Linked DNA regions of Homo sapiens: region 1 is linked to region 2. Evidence: promoter capture Hi-C in 16 types of primary human blood cells and fetal thymus (Javierre and others, 2016). All regions are on one chromosome and are shown on one strand. Each heading gives the region's core, a stretch centred on a gene start or on the middle of the fragment in contact. The rest is flanking DNA. Distances are from core to core; before and after follow the strand shown. Region 1 holds the start of MEX3D (mex-3 RNA binding family member D). Region 2 holds the start of ONECUT3 (one cut homeobox 3).

Evidence for each region. The method cuts DNA at HindIII sites, captures the fragments that hold promoters and counts their contacts. A CHiCAGO score of 5 or more calls a contact.
Region 1: a contact is called between the fragment with the promoter of MEX3D here and the fragment with the promoter of ONECUT3 in region 2, in 2 of 17 cell types (total B cells and erythroblasts). The highest score is 7.6, in total B cells.

The regions. Positions count from the first base shown.
Region 1 is chr19:1,565,694-1,572,528 of GRCh38, reverse strand. MEX3D (mex-3 RNA binding family member D) reads left to right here and starts at 4,204. Exons shown (of 2, transcript NM_203304.4): 1 at 4,204-5,065. The coding sequence starts at 4,471. It also overlaps the pseudogene RN7SL477P. RefSeq lists silencers at 3,925-3,974, 4,015-4,204. The HindIII fragment of the contact is 12,069 bases long and covers 1-6,835 here.
Region 2 is chr19:1,750,774-1,757,247 of GRCh38, reverse strand. It overlaps ONECUT3 (one cut homeobox 3), which reads right to left and starts at 3,742. Exons shown (of 2, transcript NM_001080488.2): 1 at 2,394-3,742. The coding sequence starts at 3,585. RefSeq lists an enhancer at 1-46. The HindIII fragment of the contact is 18,116 bases long and covers 1-6,474 here.

The sequences.
Region 1 (6,835 bases), core at 2,955-5,454, 190 kb after region 2:
CTGAGAGGCGGAGTTTACAGTGAGCCAAGATGGCGCCATTGCACTCCATCCTGAGTGACAGAGCAAGACTCCGTTCTCAAAAACACAAAACAAACAAAAAAAAACTGTATCCTAAGCAAGACAATGGATCCCCCAGGCCCACCCCTGGGCTTCATCAGCGATGATCACGGCTCCTCTTGTCTCCCATAACCCCCACCCTGCCCGGTCAAAATGCCTCCCTTCCTATGTGATTTTCTTCCAACATTCTCCCATGAAAAAATGTCAGACGCGGCCGGGCGTGGTGGCTCATGGCTGTAATCCCAGCACTTTGGGAGGCCAAGGCGGGCGGATCACCTGAGGTCACGAGTTCAAGACCAGCCTGACCGTCATGGTGAAACCCCGTCTCTACTAAAAATACAAAAATTAGCTGGACTTGTTGGCGGATGCCTGTAGTTCCAGCTACTCAGGAGGCTGAGGCAGGAGAATCGCTTTAACCCAGGAGGCGGAGCTTGCAGTGAGCTGGGATTGTGCCACTGCACTGCAGCCTGGGCAACAGAGCTAGACTCCGTCTCAAAAAAAAAAGAAAAGAAAAGAAAAGAAAAAGTAAAAAACATCAGATGCAGAGTGGGCCTGAGAGAATTTCACATTTCACGGTGACCACAATAGTGCCACCACCTACACCAGCGCTTCCCACCTGAGGTGACTCTGGGCCCAGGGGCCACGTTTGTGGGCATCTGGGCTGTCACAACCAAGGAGGTATATTATGGGTTGAATCATGTCCGCACAAAGATGTCTGTGTCCTCAACCCCACAACTTCTGAATGGGACCTTGTTTGGAAAGAGGGTCTCTGCAGACAAGTTAAGCCAAAGTTGTACGGGAGGGGGTGGACTCTCATCCCGTGACTCCTGTTCCCATGAGAAGAGGGAAACCAGGACACATACAGGGAGACATGGGTGTGTGAAGACAGAGGCCGAGGTCAGAGCGATGCGGCCACAATGAGCGATGAGGCCACAATGAGCGATGAGGCCACAATGAGCGATGAGGCCCAGAGCCCCCAGAAGATGGAAGAGGCAGAAAGGACGCTCCCCAGAGCCTTTGAAGGGGGCGCGGCCCTGCGCACACCTTGAGTTTTGACTCTGAGGCTCCAAAACTGGGAAAGAATTAAATATTCATTGCTTCATTCATTCATAAATTCATTTGTTTATTAGACACAGGGTTTTTTCTTTGTTTGTTTGTTTGTTTTTGAGACAGAGTCTTGCTCTGTTGCCCAGGCTGGAGTGCAGTGGTGTGATCTCAACTTGCTGCAACCTCCACCTCCCGGGTTCAAGCGATTCTCCTGCCTCAGCCTCCCAAGCAGCTGGCACTACAGGCTCACGCCACCACACCCGGCTCATTTCATATTTTTAGTAGAGACAGGGTTTCACCGTGTTGGCCAGGTTGATATAGAACTCCTAACCTAAGGTGATCTACCTGCCTTGGACTTCCAAAGTGCTGGGAAGACAGGCGTGAGCCACCGCGCCCGGCGCCCGGCTGACAATGCCATTAATAATTGCAAGTGGCTGGGCATAGTGTTACCCACCTGTAGTCCCAGCAGTTTGGGAGGCTGAGGCAGGAGGATTGCTTGAGGTTAGGAGTTCAAGACTAGCCCGGGCAACAAAAAGGACCCTGTCTCTACAAATACAAAAAGTAGCCCGGTGTGGTGGTGCACACCTGTGGTCCCAGCTACTCAGGAGGCTGAGGCGGGAGGATTGCTTGAGCTCGGGAGTTCTGAGCTGTAGTGAGCTATGCTGATCCAGCGTCTACATTAATATGATGACCTCCCTGGACTGGGAGGACCACCAGGTTGCCTAAGGAGGGCTGAACCTACCCAAGTCAGAGACGGAGCTGGTCAAAGCTCTCATGCTGATCTGTCCTGGGGTCACACCTGTGAATAGCCACTGCACCCCAGCCTGGGCAACAGAGCAAGACTCTGTCCGAAAAAGAAAGAAAAGGAAAGGAGAGGAGAGGGGAGGGGAGCAGAGAAGGAAGGGAGAATCCTGGTTGATACGGTGAAACCCTGTCTCTACAAAAAATACAAAAAATTAGCTGGGTGTGGCGTCAGGCACCTGTAGTCCCAGCCACTCGGGAGGCTGAGACAGGAGAATGGCGTGAACCCAGAGGCGGAGCTTGCAGTGAGCCAAGACTGCACCACTGCACTCCAACCTGGGTGACAGAGCGAGACTCCGTCTAAAAAAAAAAAAAGAAAGAAAGAAGGAAGGAAGGAAGGAAGGGAGAGAAAAGAAGAAATGAAGAACGAAATAAAGGATGAAAGAAAAGGAAGGAAGCAAGGAAGGAAGGAGAAGAAAGAAAAGAAAGAAGGAAAGAAAGACAGAAAAAAGAAAAGGAAGAGAAAGAAAAAAAGGAAAGAAAGAAAAGGAAAAGAAAAAAGAGAAAGAAAGGAAAGAGAAAGAAAGAAAAAGAAAAGAAAGAAAGGAAGAAAGAAAGAAAAAAAGGAAAGAAAGAGAAAAAAAGAAAGAGAGAAAGAAAGAGAGATAGAAAAACAATTCCAAGCATGGGCGTGCACGAAAGAGAAGTCCAGGACCCCAGGAGGGGAAGTGGGGCTGGATGCAGCCTGGGGTCAGGAGAGAGATTTTGGGTGGGGAAGGGCTCCAGGCAGGGGGATCCTGACCCTGCCTGCCTGGAAGAAGTGGGCAGAGAAGCCACCAAAAGTGAAGGGCCCAGCAGTGGGTGGCTGTGGCTGAGGGACTAGAAGAGTGGCTGAGGGGGACCCAGGGTGTGTGAGGCGGGGGGAGGGGACAGAGGAGAAGCCTTGCTAGGCAAAGGGGCAGGCTGCCCCACTCCTGCCCAGAGAGCCCTGCCTTCGGTCCAAGTTTGCACAGCCAGCCAGGGACAGGTCTGGTAGAAGAGGGGGGCAGGTAGACCCAGCCAGACAGGTTTATCACAAAAAACCCCACAGGTGCAAGGAAGGCCCCGAAGGACAGCTGGAGGAAGAGCCGCTGGGAAAGCGGCTATTTTTTTTTTTTTTTTTTTTTTTTGAGAGGAGTCTTGCTCTGTCAACCAGGCTGGAGTGCAGTGGTGCAATCTCGACTCACTGCAACCACCACCTCCAGGGTTCAAGCAATTATCCTGCCTCAGCTTCCTGAGTAGCTGGGATTACAGGTGCGCGCCACCACGCCTGGCTAATTTTTGTATTTTTAGTAGAGTCGGGGGTTTCACCATGTTGGCCAGGCTGGTCTCTAACTCCTGACCTCGTGATCCACCCGCCTCGGCCTCCCAAACTGCTGGGATGACAGGCATGAGCCACCGCGCCCGGCAAGGGTGGCTTTAGAGGTGGACAACGCCCGTTGCGGGGAAAGGCACCCCAGAAGAGGGTGGGGCTCCACATGGAGGGTTCTGGCTGGTGTGAGCCTGCCCTCGCCATGGAAGCACCACTGTGGTAGAGAGGTCTCTGGCTGGGGGCACAGAGACCGGGTCTGTGGCCTTGGGTGGGGCGGAGGAGGTGGCGTGGAGGAGGTGGCCTGATCCCAAAGCCGGGAGCCAGCCAGAGGGGAGCTAGGAGAGACTAGGGGAGAGGGACCTCAGGCCCTGGGGTGTGCATGATTGTGGAGCTGTCCCTGGCACAGAGGCTGGGGGTGGGGCAGGGGCCTGACCCTAAAGCCCACCTGATAGCAAGGGGTACTTGGGGACTGGGACCCCAGGCCCTGGGGGGTGCACCGTGGGGCGGGGGTTGGACCCTGGCACAGAGGCGGTGGGCGGGCAGGAGCCTGACTTCGAAGTCCAGTGGGATCGCGAGGGGGACTTGGAGAGGACCCCACGCCTTTATGCAGGGAGGTGGGGGTCCCTGGCACAAGGAAGCGGGCGTGGAGCAAGAGACCTCGCTTGGGGGCGACCCGGATCTCTAGGGGAAATTGGGGAGCGGGACCTCGGGCCCTGGGGCGCGCGAGGCAGGGACTCTCAGGCTTGGGGAGGGAGCGCTGTCCAGGCAGGGGCTGAGCCGCACACACCTGCAGCAGCGCCCGCACGTGCGGATGCGCCCGGGTTCCCGCCCGAGCGCCGGGCGGAGGCGGGGCCTGGACCACGTGCCCGGCGCCGGCCCCGCCCCGGCCCCGCCCCGCGCGCCTGCGCCCTGGGGGCCGCCCATTGTTGGGCCGCGGCGTGACGTCGCGGGGGCGGGGCCGGGGCGGGGCCGCGGGAGGCGGCGGGAGGGAAGGAGCGTCCCGCGCCGCCGCCGCCGCCTCGGCCGCCGAGGAGCCGCCGCCGCCGTCGCCGCCGCCGCCGAGCCGCAGCCAGAGTCGCTGCCGCCGCCCGGCCCGGCCCGGCCCGGCCCCGAGCAGCCCCGCGCCGCCGCCGCCCCGCCCGCCCGGCCCCCCGTGCCCGCCCCCGCCGCTGGATGCAGGCGGCCGGCGGCCCAGCTCGCAGAGGCGGAGGGCGGCGCGGGCGGCGGCGGCGGCGCGGGCGGCAGGAGCGCGGGCCCCAGCGCTAGCTCCCGCCATGCCCAGCTCGCTCGGCCAGCCCGACGGCGGCGGGGGCGGGGGCGGCGGCGGCGGCGGCGTGGGGGCGGCGGGGGAGGACCCCGGACCCGGACCTGCGCCCCCGCCCGAGGGCGCCCAGGAGGCCGCGCCCGCGCCCCGGCCGCCGCCCGAACCCGACGACGCGGCCGCCGCGCTCCGCCTGGCGCTGGACCAGCTGTCGGCGCTCGGGCTGGGGGGCGCTGGCGACACGGACGAGGAGGGGGCGGCCGGGGACGGCGCAGCGGCGGCGGGGGGCGCGGACGGCGGGGCGGCTCCGGAGCCTGTGCCCCCCGACGGACCTGAGGCCGGCGCGCCCCCGACCCTGGCCCCCGCCGTGGCCCCCGGGTCGCTGCCGCTGCTGGACCCCAACGCGAGTCCCCCGCCGCCGCCGCCGCCCCGGCCGTCGCCCCCCGACGTGTTCGCGGGCTTCGCGCCCCACCCCGCGGCCCTGGGGCCCCCGACGCTGCTGGCCGACCAGATGAGCGTGATCGGCAGCCGCAAGAAAAGCGTCAACATGACCGAGTGCGTCCCGGTGCCCAGCTCCGAGCACGTCGCCGAGATCGTGGGTCGCCAGGGTGAGTGGCCCTCGTCGGGGGTTGCTGTCCTGGGGGTCCCCGCACCGTCCGCCCCGGGGAAGGGGGTCGCCCGAGCCCAGCCCAGCCCGCGCCGGACGCCCCGCACCGGACACGCCCCGCGTGGGCTCCGGCCTCGGCCGCTGCCTTTGCGCCTTTGTCCTGCAGCCGCCGCGGGAGAAAGTTGGGCGCAGCCCGCGCTCCTCCCCTGCGCGCTCCGGCCCCGCCGCCGCCTTTGTCTGGGCCGCCTCCAGCCCGGAAAGGCTCCGGGGAGCCGCGCCGCAGCCCAGGCCCTCGGCCGCCCGCAGGGGCACCCCAGAGAGGGGCTCGAGGGCCCGGGGCTCCGGCCGGGCGGGGGGCGCCCCACACCCAGCACAGGCGGCGGGGCGGGGCAAGCGCAGGTTTAGGGGTGGCTTAGGGGGGCCGCCTGCAGGACCGGGAGAGAAGGCTGACAGTACAAAGAGCGCACGTCTCAGTCTCCAGCCTGGGGCCCTGACTGGGGTGGGGACGGGACCGGGCAGGAGAGGGTCCCTGCTCCACTCTCTGGCCCCGAGTCAGGGATTTCGGGGCCTGGGGAAGGACCGGCTGTCAAAGCCACTTCTGGGGTGCAGCCTGCTGGGCAGGCCGGCGGGCGGCAGGCCCCGGGTGTGGGGTCCAGCGGTGGCATCGTCGGAGCTTCCCTCTGGCCGCCCCATTGTTCTCTTTGTTAGAGAGCGAGGCTGAGATTTGCAGGGTGACATCAGGCCGGCCGCTGCTCATTGGCCCCCGAGCTGCGGGGCGGGCGGGCGGGTGGTGGGCAGTGCCTGGCCCAGCTCACACCCACCACCCCGTTAGCCACCCGCCCGCCTGCCTCCCTCAACTTTCTCCTGCCTTCCCGCCACCCCTCCCCGCTCCTGGGTCCCCGCTGACCGCCAGTGATCAGCCAGGTTCTAGAACTTGGGGTGGGGCCTTGGCGGGGCTGGTGGTGGGGCCGCAGGACACTTGGGCTGGGGGTCCCTGCCTCCCCGGGGCCCTCGGGAATCCAGGCCAGAGAAAGGTGTGGGGGGCTGGGATTGCAAGGTCATCTATGGCCCTGGCCTCAGGCGGGGGACCACCAGGGCGCCCTCCCCTCCGCCCTTTCCCTCGGTCCAGGTGGGTGGGGCACCACAGCCTCCTGTCTTTTGGTCGTTCATTTGTCCAGCTCATGTGGGGACCCACGGAGGGTCAGGCATGGTGCTGGCCCCAGGAAGCATGCTCTGGAGTGGTGGGTGGGGAGGGACTGGGTTCTGTCTCAGTCCTGCTGGCTGCCCTTGGTGGGACCCCCTGGCAGGAGGGCGCCCTACCATCCTGTTACTGCCTCCCCATTGAGGCCTTCCACCCGGCCTCCATGTCCCATACCCAGGGCCTAGAACGGGACAGCTGCCCTGTGCGGAGTGTCTGGGAGCCTGTGGAGACAGGCGTCCAAGCCGAGGCCTGGGGACCAAGTGACCAAAGGCACGAGCCTGAGCCTCCAGGTGGTGGAGGCTGTGGCTGTGTTCTTTGTGAACGCGCTTGTCCTGGCACCCAAGGGCCTTTGAGCGAGGCTATGGCCACATGGGGAGCTGGCAGGAATCAGCGTCAGGCTGAGAGCTTCTAGACCTGTGGCCTCAGGGTGGGAATTCTCTAGGGGCAGGTCCATGGGAAATGGAGTCTGTGGGCACCAGGCTCAGCCCCCACCTCTGGCCTGTGCGTTCTGCACCCACTTACTGGGCTCTTGCTGGTGGCCGTCAGCAAGGCAGGCCCTGGGGTACAGTG
Region 2 (6,474 bases), core at 2,493-4,992:
GCAGGAGCGAACACCCACCTGGGTGCAGGGTCAGGTGCAGGCGAAGCAGGCGGTGTCCACTCAGGGCGGGTGCTGGGTGCTGCTGACCCGGCTGCGGGGAGCCCACCCCCCCCCCATGGGACTTCTCGCCTGCGGTTTGCCCTTCTGTGACGCTCTGGCTGATGTTTTCTGTGGCCCCCAAATCTGCAATTCCAGTACTGCTAATGGGTCATTAGTTACATAACGTGACAGTGGGAAAAATGGAGAGTGGTGTGGACTCTGGGTGCACCCACGGTGGACACAATGTCCCCCAAATATGTGCTAGAGAGGAGGCAGGAGGTGGTGGGTATCGGGCTATAGAAACTGTCCCTGCCTTACTGGTGTGATGGCAACCAGTTGGTGTTTAAACGTCAGAGGGAGGCCCGGCGGGGTGGCTCAAGCCTGTGTAATCCCAGCACTTTGGGAGGCAGAAGCGGGCGGATCACCTGAGGTCAGGAGTTTGAGACCAGCCTGGCCAACATGGTGAAACTCCATCTCTACTAAAAATACAAAAAAAAAAAAAAAAAAAAAAAATAGCCAGGCGTGGTGGCGGGCGTCTGTAATCCCAGCTATTCAGGAGGCTAAGGCGGAAGAATCGCTTGAACCTGGGAGGCAGAGGCTGCAGTGAGCCGAGATCGCACCACTACACTACAGCCTGGGCGACAAGAGTGAAACTCCGTCTCAATAAATAAATAGAGCTGCCAGGGGTGTGCCCTCTGCCACCTGAGGCCTCGCACTGCACCTCGAGGGCCGTGGCTGTGTGCGGATATGACCGCCGGTCTATGGTGAGCGCACGAGTGCCGCTGTATGTGTCATGGGGAGGGGAGCAGGACAGACTGAAATCGTCCAGGTTCCCGGACCTCCCTGAGCACAAGGTTACCCTGCCACACGCGAAAGACTATTTATTTTCCCGTGCCCCAAAGCAGAAAAATCTAAGAATCCCATAAGAGGTTCCAGCTAGTCACCTTGCTTGCTCTGCAGAAGGGGGAAACTGAGGCCGGCCTGTGGGTCCAGGCTCCCAGGGGGTTGTCTGGTCCTCCTGGGGTGGAGGGAGGGAATGGCTTTCTAGGGAGGAACAGCACAGGACACCCCGCTGTCCTCTCTTCGCCCAGCCCCCCTGCCTGGACGGGCTGCCTGGGGGCACAGCCGCAAGCCCCTCTGCCTCTTTGCTAGTGGGGCGCCTCCCAGAGCCCCCGCCTTTCTCGCCCTTGTGCTCGGAGAAGCGATCGATCAGGCGCCAGCCGCCGCGGCTATTGTCCCTGTGGCCCGGGTGGACAGCCCCCTCCCCAGCACCACCAGGGAAAGAAACCCCCACCTAGGCCAGGGGCCCTCCTGCACCCTTACACCCCCACCTAGGAAATGGGGGCCTGGCCGGGCTGCCTGTCAGAGGGCAGGTGTGGACTTAGCTGTTGTCAGCTGGGAGGGAGGAGGGAGGAGGGTCCCCAGGGGGCCGGTGGCTGAGTATGAGACAGAGACAGAGGCGGAGAGACCGACAGGGAGAAGAGATAATGAGCAGGAACAAGAGCAAAACGGAGAGCAAGAGAAAAACATAGAGATACCAGTGTGTTCCGACCGAGAGAGGAGAGAAGTGGACATGAGAGACACAAAACCCCAAAGCCAGGCGGGCAGGGGCGCGCGCACCCGAGCCACGACCAAACTGCGCGGGGCGGGCGCCGGGTCGGGGTGTGAAGGCCTCCGGGCGGCGCGGGCCGAGGGTCCCCGGGGCCGCCCCTCCCCCGCCATTCTCGGGTGACCTTTGCCAGCGGCCGGAGGGGAGAGGGAGGGGGTATCGATCGCGGGGCCGAACTACAAAGAAGCGCGCGCTGGGGCAGGTGGGGGGATGAGCGCGGGCTCGGCCTCTGCTGCTGAGCTGCAGGCGCCCGCCGCAACGTCTCGGAGCTCTGTGGCCCGGGGCTGGGGGCTCAACAGCCCCTCTCCACCCACTCTGGAGGAGGGGAGTGGCACCTTAGCCGACAACAGCAGCTCGTTCGGGGACACAGCTCCCCCCAACAGGCGCGCGCTCACACACACACACGCACACACACAATGAGCTTCCCTGAGGGCTGCTTGGGGAGAGGCTCGGAGCCTCCCAGCAGTCTAACAAGGACTAGAGAACCCCTACGCGCTCCCGAAAGGGGCAGAAGCGGCGACCGGGGGGCGGGGAGGCGGCACAATCCCTTTCTCCCTTTTGGCAACGGTACAAACGGGCAGCGGCGCGGATCGCGGTCTAGCTTCCTGATAGGGGGTCCCGGGCTGCCGGGGCGCACGGGCGGGGCTTGGGGCGCTGGCCCCGGGCATCGGCCGCCGCCCCGCTAGGTGCTCGGGAGTCCAGAGCCGGCGCCCCCAGGGTCTGGCCCTGCGCGCCACGCTCCTACCTGCCAAGCGCAGCGCCGACATGCGCTGGAACTCTGGCTCCTGCAGCCACTTCCACATCCTGCGGAAGGTCTCGCGGCCGGATTTGAGCTTGCTCCACGGCTTGGGGTTGCGCAGCAGGTCGGAGAGCGTGCCCTGAGAGCGACACAGGATCCGCTGCGCGAAGATTGCCTGCGGGATGCTGTAGCGCTTCAGCTCCGCCGTGATGCGCTGCGCCACCTCCTTGGTGTTGATCTCCTCGGCCGCTGCGCCCGCGCTGGGGCCGCCGCCGCTCCCGCCGGGGCCGCCGCCTCCCCCGTGCGGCCCGTGCGCCCCGGCCGCCGCCAGCCCGCCCAGCGGCGCCAGCAGCCCCGCGGCGCTCCCGCTGCCCGCTCCGCCGCTGCCTGTGCCGCCGCCGCCTCCGGGCAGCCCGCGGGCCAGTGCGTCCTCCGCGCGTCCCAGCAGCGCGGCGTGCGGCTCGAAGGCGGCGGGCGGCAGCAGCTTGTCCCCAGCCAGGTGGCCTGGCGGGCCGTAGGCGGCCAGCGGCGGGGGTGGTGGCGGCGGCGGGGGCTGCGGGGCGCCGTGCAGCGCGGGCGGCAGCGCGTTGGGCAGCGGCGACAGCGGCGACCCCATGGCGGGCAGCTCCTTGCCGTAGGGTCCGTAGAGGTGGCCCACGGAGGCGAGCGCCGCCCGCTCGTCGCGCATGAGGGTGAAGCTGCCGCTCACGCTGGCCGCCAGACGCTGCGGCGGGGGTGGCGGGGGCGGCGCGGCCGCCGGGTGCGGGTGCGCGTGGGGATGGCCGCCGTGCGCCCCGGCCACGGCCGCGGCCGCCGCGTGCTGGTGGAACTTGTCGGCCACGGCCGCGAGCGGCGGCAGGTGCTGCAGGGGCGTGAGCGTCGTGTAGGTGCCGCCCAGGCCCGGCGCCTCGCAGGCCATGCCCATTGCCGGGTGCAGCGGGCCCGCCAGTTCCCCGCGGAAGTCCGCGCCGCCGCCCGCGCTGCCCGCGCCGCCCGCGCCCCCGGCGCCCCCACCGCCGCCGCCGCCGCCGCCGTCCAGCAGGCTCGCCATGCCGGCCACCAGGCCCGGGCGCCCGGGCGCCACCAGGCCGCGGTGCTGCGCCGCCGCCGAGCGCGCGTGGCCCGGGCTCAGCAGCTCGCCCGCCTGCGCGTGGGCCACGCTGTGCAGGCCCCCCAGGCTCTCCAGGCTCAGCTCCATGCTCGGCTGCCCTCCCGCCGCGCGCGCTCCTCAGCGCCGGCCCCTAGTGCTCAAGGCCGCTGCATGACTCCCGCCCGCTCCCCGGTGGCTGCGCGCGAGGCTGCCAGGCTGCGCGGCGCACGGCCCGGCCCGGCTGCGAGCGCGGCCACCAGGATGTGGCAGGGGAGCGGCCGCCGGCGCCCGGGCCCGGGTCTGACGTCAGCGCCCCCGCCCACCCGCTCCTGCCACCGCTGCCTCCCGCAGCCTCGCTCTCCGCCCGCCCCGGCCCCACTCGAGCACCAAGCAGGCCGAAGTCGGCCAGACTTGGGGCTTCGGCGTCCCTGGCCACTGCGCCCGCCCGCGCCCGCTGGGGCAGGCCGTACCCGGGGGACAGCGGGCGGGGGTCCGAGGACAGACTCTGCCCAGGTGGGGCTGGGGGCCTCGACCCAGAGTCTCCGATTTCGCGTCTCTGTGTGATTCTCTCCAGAGTCCCAGATGTGGCTTTCTGCCTGGCACCCCCAAGTCCATCTCCAGGGAGTTTCTGGGAGTGTGGCTGGACGGTCGCCTGTAATGTACGTGTCCCCCCCCCCCCCCGTTCCCTACAGACCCCCAGGAGCTAGATCCCCACTGCAAGCTCAGCTTCCCCCGACTCCCACTCACACCTACGGAGTCACAGCCCCCTTCCCACAACCTCTTTGTGGAGGAAGTGGGGGAAAAGGGAGGTCCTAAGGCTAGGTCAGGGCCTCCGTGCGCCCCAGGGGTCAGCCTCTGCCCATGTGTGGGCACCTGGGCCTCCGTTTCCCCAACTGTACAATGGGCTGCCCGGCCTCGGGGTTGCCAAAGGCCCCTTCTAATTGCAGGGCCTTTTTACAGTGCGGCCGCTGGAGGCACTGGAGCCTGGGGGTGACCACTAAGAGCCCCTGTCACCCTCCAGCCCACGGAGGCTGAGGCTGGATCCCCTGTCTTCTGAGACGTCGCTGGTGCAAACTCCTCTTTGTCCCTGGGGCTTCTCTTCAATGTGGGGGGAGGCAGGGGTCTCCTTTTTCTCAGCACCTGGAGACAGGTGAGCCCCAGGGGCCCCTGGGAACTGGGATAGATGGGGGAAGGGCTCCTATAATCAGAGAGACCCCCAGGGGACTAGATCCCGCCAGTGGGGTAAGGTCAGGGCTGCGGATCTGGAGGGGCCAGACCAGAATCTAGAGGATGCTCTGTCTTGTAGGCCAGAGGCTACGGTGCAGAGTCCAAAACCAGCCTCAGCCCCTTCCTGCTTCCCCGTTGCCTCTGCCCCCCCCACCCCCGGGGTAACGCTTGTGCACTTTCTAGAAGAGGAAGGGGATGGGTCAGGCAGTCGGTTCGCGGGAGCCCCCAGTTACCCCCATCTCAGAGGGTTGCATCAGGGCTCAAAGCTGAAGGAAGAGGGGAGGACACAGTCAGGCTGTCACTTCCCCTTTGGTGCAAACCTTCTGGGCAAACCCCGGCCCCAGCTTTGCACCTGCATCCAGATTTCCTGGCCCCTGTAGACGTGGCTACACATTGGAGATGCGATTTTCTGAACCAAGACTAGGTTGGCTCTGGAATAGGGCCCTTTCTGTGCCTCAGTTTCCCCTTCTCTGGTGTGGGAGGGGGTGCCCTCCAGCCTGCCCAGCTGGGAGCCGGAGGTGAGTCTATGCTGACCACAACAGCCAGAGAGAGAGGGGGCCTGAATGATCTGGGCCCCCAGCCTGAGGTGGCCTGATCCAAGTCCTGGGGAGGGATAGGGCTGAAGGGGACCCCTGTTAGTACTCGCTGCTTAGGGCTCGGCATTTAGTAAGTGCCTGTTATTTACCAGGCATACTCTCCTCTCTCAGCCCCAGAGAGGGGGAAGTCAAATCACAATTTTTCCGGGTGTCTCTGGCCCAAGGTGGGGGGGTGGTGGCCCTAGAGTTCCCCCCTTCATTCCTACATCTGCCCAAGTGCTAACTCCTGCCCCCTGAAGTGTCGGTCCCTAAACTTTCCAGTTCCAGGGTTCAGGTATAATTTCTGGAGTTTACATAATTACACCCATCTTCCAGGTGGGAAGAGAGGGGCAGGTCCGAACAGTCGCGTACCCCACTCCCCGTGCAGATGCTGAATCTCGGCGGGGGGGATGTGGCTGCACAGAGCCCCAGCCTGCGCTCCTCATTCTCACCCTCCAACAATCACAGATAATTAAAAATAATCGTGAGATCTAAAAATCAATCAGCCGCCATAAAACGCTAGCATCCCAGGCTCAAGAAGCGCAGACCAGGTGGGGGCTGGGGGTCTCTACGGGTGGGAGGATAACAAGGTGGAAGGAAGTTCCCCCAAATGCCAATGTGGGGGAGCTCCTAGGGAGCTGGGATTTTGCAGGCTTCCTTTTAAATATATTTTTTACAGCTTGATGATCGTGTTCATTTTAATAGCAAGCGTGTGTGGCTTTTCTAGCAGGGAAAGCATCCATTTTGAAAGAGAAGACGAGGGTCAGGGACTCCGAGAGGAAGAGGGCCTCTCCCCTCTGCTGCCTCAGGACACGCTAAGGTGGCCACAGACCCCTTCCAAAGCTCCCTAGACTTGGAAGGGGCAGCCCAGCCTGGTGGACCTAACCCTATCCAGGTCTGCGAAGCCCCTCACCCCTCCCTTCGGCTGATGGACACTTGGACTCCCCCAGGGATGGGGATCTCACTCCTTGTAGAGGCTGTGGTCCCGTTGAGAGATTGAACAGAATTTTGCTGGCCCCAAGAGAGGGACTGTGGCCCCCTGGAGCCCCCAGCTTGCTTCTCCCCACCAGCAGCAGCCTTTTAGTAATTAGTAAAATAGAATTGAGCCGGCCACCGGGTAGGCTGGCTGCCCAGGCCCAGATCGATCCTGGGTCATTAGGCAAATTGTGGGCAGGGGGAGGGGTGGGCTGGATCG